4 separate regions of the Homo sapiens genome follow, and all the other regions are linked to region 3. The links are contacts of gene promoters, found by promoter capture Hi-C in blood cells and fetal thymus (Javierre and others, 2016). All regions are on one chromosome and are shown on one strand. Each heading gives the region's core, a stretch centred on a gene start or on the middle of the fragment in contact. The rest is flanking DNA. Distances are from core to core; before and after follow the strand shown. Region 1 has its middle 5.9 kb from the start of RAC2. Region 2 has its middle 2.9 kb from the start of CYTH4. Region 3 holds the start of ELFN2 (extracellular leucine rich repeat and fibronectin type III domain containing 2). Region 4 holds the start of SSTR3 (somatostatin receptor 3).

Region 1 (2,700 bases), core at 177-2,676, 180 kb before region 3:
TCACCACAGGCCTTCGAATTTGGGAGGCACAGTCCCACCCAGCAGTGTGCTGGGAAATGTTCAACTTAGAGTTCCAGTTTAGTTATTTTTCTGGTAAATATTCCAGTATATGAATGTATTGAAATGTTATTTATCCAATTCATGCAGATAATGACATTAAATACATATCACACAAAAACTAAAAACAGTCAATATATCGCCACACCCTAAATTCTGTCCAAAGTGTGTAAAGACCTACTCATATTTATTTCGTTTTTCCTTTTTTGAGACAGGGTCTCACTCTGTTGCCCAGGCTGGAGTGCAATCATGGCTCACTGCAGCCTACATCTCCCGGGCCAGGATTTGTAAGTGGCTTGCAATGTTTGCACTACAAACGATTCTGCTGTGAACATCCATGTGCTCCTGGGCTGGTGTGTGAGGTTTAGCATACACACACATATCTTGCACTTCAACGGACAGTGCTACGCCCATCTCCAGGGGCCTCCTCGTCTACTCCCAGCCCATGCTTGGCCTGTAAGACTTCATACTTTTGCCAGCTAGATGGGTGTGAATTGGCATCTCACTGAGGTTTTAATTTATATTAACTGATTCCCAGTGGTATTAAGCATCATTGTAAGTGATTACTGGACCTTGTGTTTCCTGTTCCATAAATTGCTTTTTCTTCACTTTTCTCCATTTCTCTATTGGAGCATTTATCTATTTTATTTTATTTATTTTATTTTATTATTTTATTTTTTGAGATGGAGTTTCACTCTTGTTGCCCAGGCTGGAGTGCAATGTCGTGATCTCGGCTCACTGCAACCTCCGCCTCCCAGGTTCAAGCGATTCTTCTGCCTCAGCCTCTTGAGTAGCGATGATTAAAGATACACGCCACCATGCCCGGCTAATTTTTGTATTTTTAGTAGAGATGGGGTTTCACCATGTTGGCCAGGCTGGTCTCAAACTCCTGACCTCAGGTGATCCACCCACTTCTGCCTCCCAGGTAGTGCTGGGATTACAGGCGTGAGCCACTGTGCCAGGCCCAGTATTTATCCTTCTCTTACATTTATTTGGAGAAGCTCTTTGCATATTCTGATTTTCATTTGAATTGCTAGAGGCATTTCATACTTTCTTCCAGTCCGTGGGATGTCTTTTAATATGTTGTGACATTTAATAGACACAATTTTTATCTGCATGTAGTCAAATTTCCACTTTCTCTCCTAATTGAGGTAGGAGGCAGGGTTTGACTCAAGACCAGACTGAGGACTAGCAGAAATGGGGACGAGGCGAAAGCACCTCTTCATGAGACATGCCCAGCAGCGCCATGTCAGTTTACCATTGCCATGGCAACACCCGGACGTTACCACCCCTTTCCATAGCAACAGCCCGGAAACTACCACCCTTTTTCTAGAAAGTTCTAAATACCCCACCCCTTAATTTGCATGTGACTAAAAGTGGGTATAAATATGACGGTGGAACTGCCCCTGAGCTGCTGCTCTCAGTACACTGCCCGTCAGGTAGCCCTACTCTGCAGGGGCACTCGCGCAGCTGTAACACTGCCACCTCCATAAAGCTGTTTTCTTCCACCGTCAGCTCAGCACGGAATTCCTTCCTGAGAGAACCCAAGAACCTTCCAAAGCTAAGCCCCAATTTGGAGGCTCACCTGCCCTGCATCATAATGACTTGTGTTTTTTGGAGTGAATCTTACTTAAAAATTCCTTTCCTTCCCCCAATTTCATGAAGACGAATATCCTCATTTTCTTTTAAAGTTTTGCTTTTCATAAACAGGTCTTGTCAGGTGCAGTGGCTCATGCCTGCAATCCCAGCACTTTGGGAGATGAAGGCACATAGATCACTTGAGCCCAGGAGTTTGAAACCATCTTGGGTAATATGGTGAAACCCCATCTCTACAAAAAATACAAAAATTAGCCAGATGTGTTGGTGCATGCCTGTAGTCCTAGCTACTCAGGAGGCTAAGGTGGGCAGGTCGCTTGAGCCTGGGAGGTCGAGGCTGCAGTGAGCCATGATCATACCACTGTACTCCAGCCTGGGCAACAGAGTGAGACCCTGTCTCAAGAAAGAAAAAAGAAAATAAATATGAGTAGGTCTTTACACACTTCAGACGGAATTTAGGGTGTGGTGAGATTATTGACTGTTTTTAGTTTTTGTGTGATATGTATTTTTTTATTATTGTATTTTATTTTATTTTTGGAGACTGAGTCTCACTCTGTCACCCAGGCTGGAGTGCAGTGGCATGATCCCAGCTCACTGCAACCTCTGCCTACGGGGCTCAAGCGGTTCTCCTGCCTCAGCCTCCCAAGTAGCTGGGATTACAGGCACGCACCACCACACCCAGCTAATTTTGTATATTTAGTAGAGATGGGGCTTCACCATGTTAGCCAGGCTGATCTCGAACTCCCAACCTCTGGTGATCTGCCCGCCTCGGCCTCCCAGAGTGCTGGGATTACAGGCGTGAGCCACCGCACCTGGCCTGTGTGATATGTATTTAACATCATTATCTCCATGACTGATTGTTCCAGAACCATTTATTGAGTAGCTCTGCCTGCTTTTTGCCCAGTAAGCTGTGGTCAAGCCATCTCGCATCTCACAGTTCCACTGCTATAAAGAAATATCTGGGAATGGGTAATTTACTAAGAAAAAGAGGTTGAACTGGCTCACAGTATCACAGGCCGCACAGGAAGCATGGTGGCATCTGCTTCT
Region 2 (2,700 bases), core at 176-2,675, 150 kb before region 3:
CAATAAACATCAAAGGAATAAATAAATGAATGGATGGATGGATGGATGGATGGATGGATGGGCACTCTGACTGTGCAGCCAAAATGGGCTTAAGGGCAGATTCTGCTTCTAACTCACTCTGTTAAGTCCCTTCCCTCTCCCAGCCTCCGTTTCCCATCTGTAAGATGAGGCCATGGAATCAGACCTCCTCTAAGCTTCTTCCATCTCTCTCGCCCTTGGGCCATTGGCATCACGTGAGGAATTCTGAGCTTTTGGACAAACAGAAGATGTTACCCAGATGGTTTTGCTATTATTTGATTCAGATGCTAGACCCTTCCTATCTCTCCCTCAAAGGAAGTGCAGGGAGTGGGGAGGGCAGGTCGGTGAACTTCTGAAATGTTTAAAGTGACGCTTGTACAAGCTGAGTGTGGGGATCTGAAGTCAGACAGTTCAGGGCTTGAATCTGAACTTTGCTTTCTCCTGGCTGCGTGACCTTGGGCAAGTGATTTAACCTCTCTGAACTCAGTTCCCTCATCTATGAAAGAGGGGTTGTAATAATGTAATTTGTTGAATGGTGGAAAGGGTTAAATGAGATGACAAGCACTTAGCACAGTGTCTGGCACTCCATAGCAGGCACTCCAGAAATAGCAGTGATGGTTTTTTTAGGACCTCCCAGATCTCGTGTTTGGAGACTCTCATTTGTTGTCCCAGAACCAACTGCGGATCCCCTGCCTGGTACACAGGTGGGAACCAGAGCCTGATGTAGCGCAGAAGGACTGATCTCAGGCCAGAAAGTTTTAAGGGGATTCCTTCCCGTTTTCATCCTTCCTCCTACCTGGAATTTAGACATGATAGCTGGAGATCAAGCAGCCACTTTGGACCATGAAGAGAATTTGAGGACAGCAGCCGAAAGTTAGAAGGATCCTGGATCCATGCCCAGGCTGCTACAGGGCAGCCATGTGTTGCCCACTTCAGGTTTCTTTCTTGTAAGAGATCAATAAACCTCTAGTTTCTTTAAACCATTATTATTATTTGGGTTTTCTGTTTCATGTAGGCAAACCTAACCTGAACTGTCTCCATTTTGTAGATGATTTTAAATGATTAAAAATGAGGCTCGGAGGGGAAGGAAGAAGATCACACAGCTCACAAGAGCTGAGTCAGGATTCAAATCCAGTTCTCTGTGACTCCCCTGGGTCCAGCTTCCTGCTCTCCTCATTGCCTGTGCTATTGGTTCCCAGCAAATCTTGCAGCCAAACCTGGACAAGGAGTGACGGAGAAAATGATGAAGTCAGTTCTGCTAAACTCTTTGCTGCTCACAGTGAAAGAGTCCCTCCCTCCCAGGCTGTCTGCATATAAGCCGTTAAACATGACCAGCGTTGTGGGAAAGAGGGAGGGGAGGTGTCATCACAACGGACCTCACAGAGGAGGTGGTATTTGAGGTATGTCTTAGAGAATAAGACAGTAACAATAGCTGAACCACACAACCGTGACCATCCATCAGACAAAAGGGAAGTGTCAGATGCCAAACCGTGGCCTGGTCAAGACACATTTACTGGATCAGCCGCAAGATCAGGCAGCCTTCCCCAAGGCCATCCCAGGTTCAGTGGTTTACTAGGTGGACTCCCAGGACTCAGCTCATGGTCATACTTACGGCTATGATCTATGGCAGTGAAAGGACTCAAAGCAGAATCCGCAAAGGCGCCGTGGCGAAGTCCAGAGGAAACCAGGGGCAGCTTCCAAGAGTCTGCTCCCAAAAGAGTCACACGGGACACGCTCAATTCCTCCAGCAACAAGTCGTGAAAGCACCTGTGAGATGGGATGCTGCCAGGGACGCTAGGCAAATAGGTTAGGCCCAGTAAGCCACTCTCATCAGTTAGGGTGGTGGGAGCCCTCCCCAAATCCAAGCTCCCAGGTGCCAGCCAAGGGTCAACTTTGCAAGCATGACTTTCTAAAGATAGCAGTCTCCGGCCTGCAGTGTGAAGTCTTTCTGCACAGGGAATTATATATACCTTTCTCCATATTTCTAGGGGTTATTTTGTTTGTTTTGTTTTTTCTTTTGTTTTGTTTTTGGAGACGGAGTCTCACTCTGTTGCCAGGCTGGAGTGCAGTGGCGCGATCTCAGCTCACTGCAACCTCCGACTCTCTGGTTCAAGTGATTCTCCCGCTTCAGCCTCCCAAGTAGCTGGCATTATAGGCACCCGCCACCATGCCCAGCTAATTTTTGTATTTTTAGTATAGACGGGGTTTCACCACGTTGGCCAGGATGGTCTTGATCTCCTGACCTTGTGATCCACCCGCCTCGGCCTCCCAAAGTGCTGGGATTACAGGCATGAGCCACTATGCCCAGCCCACATTTCTAGTTTTAAAATGGCCAAGGGCATGGTTTGTGGTGCCTCAGGCCCAAAGCAGTTGAGAAAAATCTAGTTTACCATGGAAATAATTGTAACAAGTTTTCCAGAAAAGAACCATGAGTTATACAAGAACCCAGGTGGAGGCAGGGCAGGGGAGAAGCAGCGGGGTTCAAAAATCCTGAGCACACTAGACGGGGACTTAGTAGGCCTGGCTTCTGGGCCTGAATTGGCACTCACTCAAGTTCCAACTTGGTCAAGTGTTTCCCAGAAATAAGCCTCAGTTTTCTCTCCGAGGAAATGACAGCATTGGATTTCTTCTGTATCAGCAAGCTTTGGCTGCATAACAAAGCATCCCAGAAGTTGGTGGCTT
Region 3 (2,700 bases), core at 193-2,692:
ACAGCCTGGCCTGCTGATAGCGACAGCCGCAGCCCAGACACACACACACACTCCAGCCCAACACCTGCGTCTCAGCAAGGGACCAAGGCAGTGCCCTCCAGCCGCAGCTGCTGGGTGGGAGGAGTCCAGGGGGAAGGGGCACAGCACAGAGCCCTGAGCTGCAGAAAGTGCCGAGTACCACGTTCCTCCCCAGCTGAGTGCACGGTCAGCACCACTGTCCCCTTCTCGTCTCCCTCCTTGGGCACGCCTGACACACCATGGCCTGTGGCCTCTGTTTTGGACACAAGCTCCCCGAGTGTGCATGCACACGCGCGCGCGCGCACACACACACACACACATCAGCTCCCTTCCCTCCAAACATTCCGAGGAAATCCTGCCAGGCCACTGACAGTGTGCGTGTGTGCGCTTGTGTGTATACAGACAGAGAGCAGGGTCCACCCCATGTCCACACACACACGCACACACCACACACACACAGCACGCACAATCCTCTCCACATGCACACGGCGCCCCACCAGCCAACACACCCACCCCCTCCCCGTCCCCTGACAGCTGCTGGAGCCCACACACGCACGCACACACACACACTGGCACGCGCTCGCACACACACACAAACACACACACACACACACACCCGGCAGTGGCCCCGGCCCTGCCAGAGCTGCAGTGTCTGCGATTTATGCCGCCTCCCTGGGCTGCCTCCCTCCTTGTCCCTGGCCAGCGCCTCTGAAAGGGTCCCCACCCCCCAATTCTGGTCTTACCAACCCCACCGCCGTCAAGCCCCACCCTGGCCCCCCTTCCCCTAGAAGGCATCCACCCCGTCAACCCCTCTTACCAGCTAGAGGATGAATGCCTTGACCCGGCAGCACCCCGTGAAAGAGAGGGGTTAGGGCCCCCGATTCGAAAAGATGAGGGCAGAGAGGTGCAGTGTGGCACCGGCTGGCACACCGTCCACCATCGAGCCTCTGCACCACCCCCAGAAACGCTCACCTCACCGACCGTCCTCGGTGTCCTCCCACCGCCTCCGCCCACCGCCACCACCACCACCTCCCTCGCGCAGGGTGGTCCCCCGGGGGTCTCACGGGGATCCCCAGACCCAGGAGACACTGGGGGTGGCTCTCCCCGTCTCATCCCCCCTTCCGTGTCCCTCTCCAAGCCCCACCCCCACTGACGGAGGGGGTGCCCTCCGGCTCCAGCCCCGACTCCCACCGTCTCCCCGGTCGGTCGGTCGCGGCGCTCGGATCCAGAGGAATTCACTTACCCCAGCCCCAGCCGGGATCCGGGCCAAGCACCGCCTCCGGGAAGCGGCGGCCGCGGGGCCTGCGCGTGTGAGTGTGAGTGTGAATGTGAGTGTGAGCGCGGGTGTGGGTGCGGGGTGCGTGGCCGTGGGGTGGCCCGCGTGTGTCTGTGTGTGTGTCTGGGAGCGCGCGTGTGCGCGCAGACGCCGCCGCCCCCTCCTCCCCGCCGCCGCGCCTCTGCCCCTGCCTCGGCGGGGAGGGCGCCCGGGAGGGGCCAAGCGGCGCGCGTCAGGGACCGCGGCAGGCTGTGTCCGTCTGTCCGTCCCCGTCTGTCCGTCCGCCAGCCCGCCCGCTCCCGGTGCCCTCCGCAGGCCTTTCCGCAGCAAGCCCGCTCCCGCCCCCGAGCCGGCCGCACGCTCCACGGACACACGCGCGCTCGCAGACACACGCCCGCGGGGCTGGGGCCGCGCCTGGCGCCGCCGCTGCAGCTGCAGCGCCCGGGGAGGCGAAGGCGGCCCCACGGACCCGAGCCCCGGCCTGGCGGACCCCTGTCCCGGCCGCGGCCCCCTGCGCTGCTCACCCCGCGGGATCCGGGTCCGGGTCCGGGTCCGGCCTCCGCCAGCGCATTCAACAGCTGGGGGCAAACTTGCGGCGGGGCCGCCCGAAGTGCGCCTGGACTCGCCCTCCCCCTGGACTCCGCCTCCGCTGATGGGCCCCCTCTCCGCCTTGTACCTCCATGCCCTGCCGCCTGCGCCCTGCTGGTTGGTCCCGCGTTCAACCGCTGGCGACTGGGGAAGTGCGGCTGCTGCGTTCCCATTTTACAGGCCAGACAACTGAGGTTCGGAGAGGAGTGATTCCCCCAAGGTTACACAGGGAGCCTACAGACAGTATTAGACTTTACGCTCCCCTACCTTGTGCCAGGGCACTCACTGCCTTTCCCCACCCCTCCAGGAGTAGGTCCAAGGGATACTGGGCTCATCTGTAGCTAGAGAACCTTCATTAGCCTTCCAGAGGCCCAGTTCCCCGCCCCTTACGCCAAAGCCCCTGCCACCTGCTGCCACCTGCAAAGGGGTGGATGCTGGGAGGAGGAGGAGGAGGTGGAAGATGCAAGAAGCCTGGCACCCGGGGCCTATAACTTGGTGCTTGGGCATGCAAGCACCTCCTCCCGAGGCCCTGCGAGCTGCATGTCGGAGGCCTGCTGCCAGCAGGCCCTGTACTTCTCCATCACTTTTATAGGACCGCATGCACCAGCGCCTGTTCTCAGGTGTTGCACAGCAGATGAAGTCCAGGCTGCGGGAACTCCCCGTCGGGACATCTCATGCAGGTCTGGAATAAGGAGACTCCCCAGAAGAAGCCACTGCCTGAGCTGAATCTTGATGGATGAGTAGGAGTTGGCCAGCTAAAGAAGGAGGAGAAGGGTGTCCTGGACTCTGGGAACAGCATGTGCAAAGAGGCACAGAGG
Region 4 (2,700 bases), core at 35-2,534, 220 kb before region 3:
GCAGGGCGATGGCCCCTGGCTCTCTGCTTGTCCTCTACATGCTTCGGCCTTCCCCCCAAAGACACCTGGCTTATGCTTGCCAGTGCCGACTGACTCACTGGCACCCCAGGCCTGGGGCCTGATCCCAGGAGCACACCCTACAGGCCCAGCGCTGGGGGCTTGGGCTCTGCTGCACAGCGATGATGCCAAATTGCTGTGTGACCTCGGGCAAGTCACTTCTCCCCGCTGCACCTCAGTTTCGTCATATGGAAGACAAGCGGACCCACCTCCCAGGGTTGTTTGCAGAGATTAAACGGAGGCGTGCCAAGCACAGTGCCGGGTATGGAGGGGGAGCTCAGGAGAGCTGCCACGTGAGCTGGGGAAGCCAACGACATGATACATCTGGCTCCCTCCAGCCCTGACAGCCTGCGATTCTGTGATTCCGAGATCCTAGAATCATGGCACGAGATTCTGAGACTAACGCCCCTGCCCCTGCAGCCGACCGGGAGGTCACAGGAAGGCCTCCCTCCTGCCTCCCTGGGAGTCCCCACCCTCTGCCTCCCCAGCCCCAGCCTCCCAAGTTCATCCTGGGCAGAGGATGGGCTTCCAGGACCCCACCCTTCGGGACATCATCCGGGCCCCAGCCTCCTTACCTGCCCATGGGGTGAGGGCTTCCCTCCTTGCCGCCAGGCTGGTTATCATTCTGCTGTCCCCTCTCCCTGCCCAGTCCCCAGGTGCCCCCAGGGCACTCCTAACTAGGGTCCCCACAAGGCACCCACTTCTAGACCGCTTGCGGGCTCAGGTTCCCTCCCAGGCCCTCGGCCACGGCTGTCCACAGAGCCTCTCCCATCTGGTCTCCGGCCCTGACTTCCCAACCAGAGCCTGGTACGTCACCCCCCATCTCCAGGACACATCCTGGGGGGGCAGGGGCAAGGATAGGGGGGAGAAGCTTCCCAGGGTGAGGAAGAGAAGAGGGGAGCAAGGGACACAGAAGCCAATAGAAATAGAGGGGAAAGGGGGTCGGGAGGAGGTGGAGAAAGAGAGAGAGAGAGAAAGAGGGAGGGGGAGAGAGAGAGAGGGAGAGGGAGAGGAGACCGTGAGTAGGAGGAAAGGCAGAATGAGGGGGAGTGATGAGAGATGCGTGACAGGGAGAAGACGAGAAGGAAAGAGAGGAGAGGAGACACGGGTGAGAGGGAGAGATGCAGAGAGAGGCAGGAGGGAGGAAGGAGAATGAGGGGGTGGCAGGGAGAGTGACAGAGAGGGACTGTGCCACAGATGGTGACATGGAGCCCGTGAAGGAGGGAGTAAGCAGGGAGGGGCTGAGGGCCGGAGAGCAGGTGTGGGGGGTGGGGGCGGGGTGCAGGTTAAGGGAGGAGGCCCGGAGAGGGAGCAGGAGGGGCGCAGACCCTGTTACCGGGGAGATTTCAGCCACCCACGCCCGCTGGCCTTGGCTCCTGCAGGGAGTTGGAGAGAAGAATGTGCTCAGTGCTCAGGGGAGCCGAGGCTGCCAGCCAGTAGCCAGAGCAGCTCGTGAGGCCACTGCGGCACAGGTCCCCCGGGGCAGCAGCTGTGTCCCAAGGCAAGGCTGGGTGTGGGGCTGGCCAGCCCGGGAGTCCACAGTCCAGCCCTGCAGTCGGGCACACCGGCCGCAGCACGGACCACTGGGGAGGCCGGGTGGGGGTCATTAGTCCTGGGATTGGTTACATCTGGAGAGCCCCAGGCAGGGTGAGGAGTGGAAGGACAGAACAGAGAACCAATATTTTAGGCTTTGAGGGCAAAATCATTGTGCAGTGAGAAAACAGATTTTTACTATTTTGTAACTGACAAAACTCAAAATAGAATAATAATAATTGAGGCCAGTATTTTGTAATGTAGGTCCACTCATGAGAAGAATAGAGTTCTTTTTACAGACATCACCTTTTGCTTAATTGGAGTTTAGAGTTAGTGTTTCATCAAACCGATTGCAAATGTTCATCCGTAAAAACCATTCTCAGCTCCTAGGCTGTACAAAAACAGGCAGTGGGTGGGATTTGCCCCGTGGGCCATATTTACTGATCTTTGGTCTAAGAGACTCTGCCGTACAGTCCTGAGCACAGGCCCAGATGTCTTGGGATGCCGTGCCCCTGCCTGTGCTGATTCCTGCCTCAGCACAGGAGTGATAAGGAAAGGAACAGTCAGAGACGGAAGGGAAAAGGACACACGTCTTGGCTGAGCACCTACTATGTGCCAGGCTGTACCTAGGCTGCTTTCCAAACTGGGCCATTCCCTGGGACCAGGGCTGGACCTCCTTTGTCACTAGGTACCTGGCACTGCAGAGAACTGGAAGTTGAATGCATCCAGAGGTGCCACCATGCATGCGGCAGCACACAGTAGGACACACCCACTTCCAGCCGGAGCCGGCCTGGTCTCTTAACGCTGCCCGTCCCTTTGCCTTGTGCCCGGGACAAGGCCCTTGCTCCAGGTCTCAGCCTCCCATTGTCCTTGTCCGTACAAGTTCATGAGGTGTGGGTGGGCTCCTGGGAGCGTGTCCTCAGGGTCAAGGGTGGGTTTTCCATGGCACTGACCACCCACCCCTACCCACGGCTTCTCACTGCCCTCAGAATAAAGCTCTCTCGCCGCAGCCCACCTGGCACTGCATCCTTGATTCCTGCCGCCTGCGCGGGCCTCCTCCTCTGCTGATTTCACTCGCTCCTCTGTGCCCCAGGCGTACCCAGCCTCATG

What was found. The method cuts DNA at HindIII sites, captures the fragments that hold promoters and counts their contacts. A CHiCAGO score of 5 or more calls a contact.
Region 1: a fragment that was not itself captured here is called in contact with the fragment with the promoter of ELFN2 in region 3 in 4 of 17 cell types (naive CD4 T cells, total CD8 T cells, fetal thymus and 1 more); the score reaches 6.4 in naive CD4 T cells.
Region 2: a contact is called between a fragment that was not itself captured here and the fragment with the promoter of ELFN2 in region 3, in 9 of 17 cell types (naive CD4 T cells, endothelial precursors, non-activated CD4 T cells and 6 more). The highest score is 9.6, in naive CD4 T cells.
Region 4: a contact is called between the fragment with the promoter of SSTR3 here and the fragment with the promoter of ELFN2 in region 3, in 14 of 17 cell types (neutrophils, monocytes, total CD8 T cells and 11 more). The highest score is 18.7, in neutrophils.

What each region holds. Positions count from the first base shown.
Region 1 is chr22:37,248,796-37,251,495 of GRCh38, forward strand. No RefSeq gene overlaps it. Among named protein-coding and RNA genes, the nearest start is that of RAC2, 5.9 kb to the left of the region's middle. The HindIII fragment of the contact is 4,143 bases long and covers 1-2,700 here.
Region 2 is chr22:37,278,241-37,280,940 of GRCh38, forward strand. No RefSeq gene overlaps it. Among named protein-coding and RNA genes, the nearest start is that of CYTH4, 2.9 kb to the right of the region's middle. The HindIII fragment of the contact is 2,466 bases long and covers 193-2,658 here.
Region 3 is chr22:37,426,037-37,428,736 of GRCh38, forward strand. It overlaps ELFN2 (extracellular leucine rich repeat and fibronectin type III domain containing 2), which reads right to left and starts at 1,443. Exons shown (of 3, transcript NM_052906.5): 1 at 1,262-1,443. The HindIII fragment of the contact is 18,273 bases long and covers 1-2,700 here.
Region 4 is chr22:37,211,193-37,213,892 of GRCh38, forward strand. It overlaps SSTR3 (somatostatin receptor 3), which reads right to left and starts at 1,285. Exons shown (of 2, transcript NM_001051.5): 1 at 633-1,285. RefSeq lists an enhancer at 124-1,103. The HindIII fragment of the contact is 10,151 bases long and covers 927-2,700 here.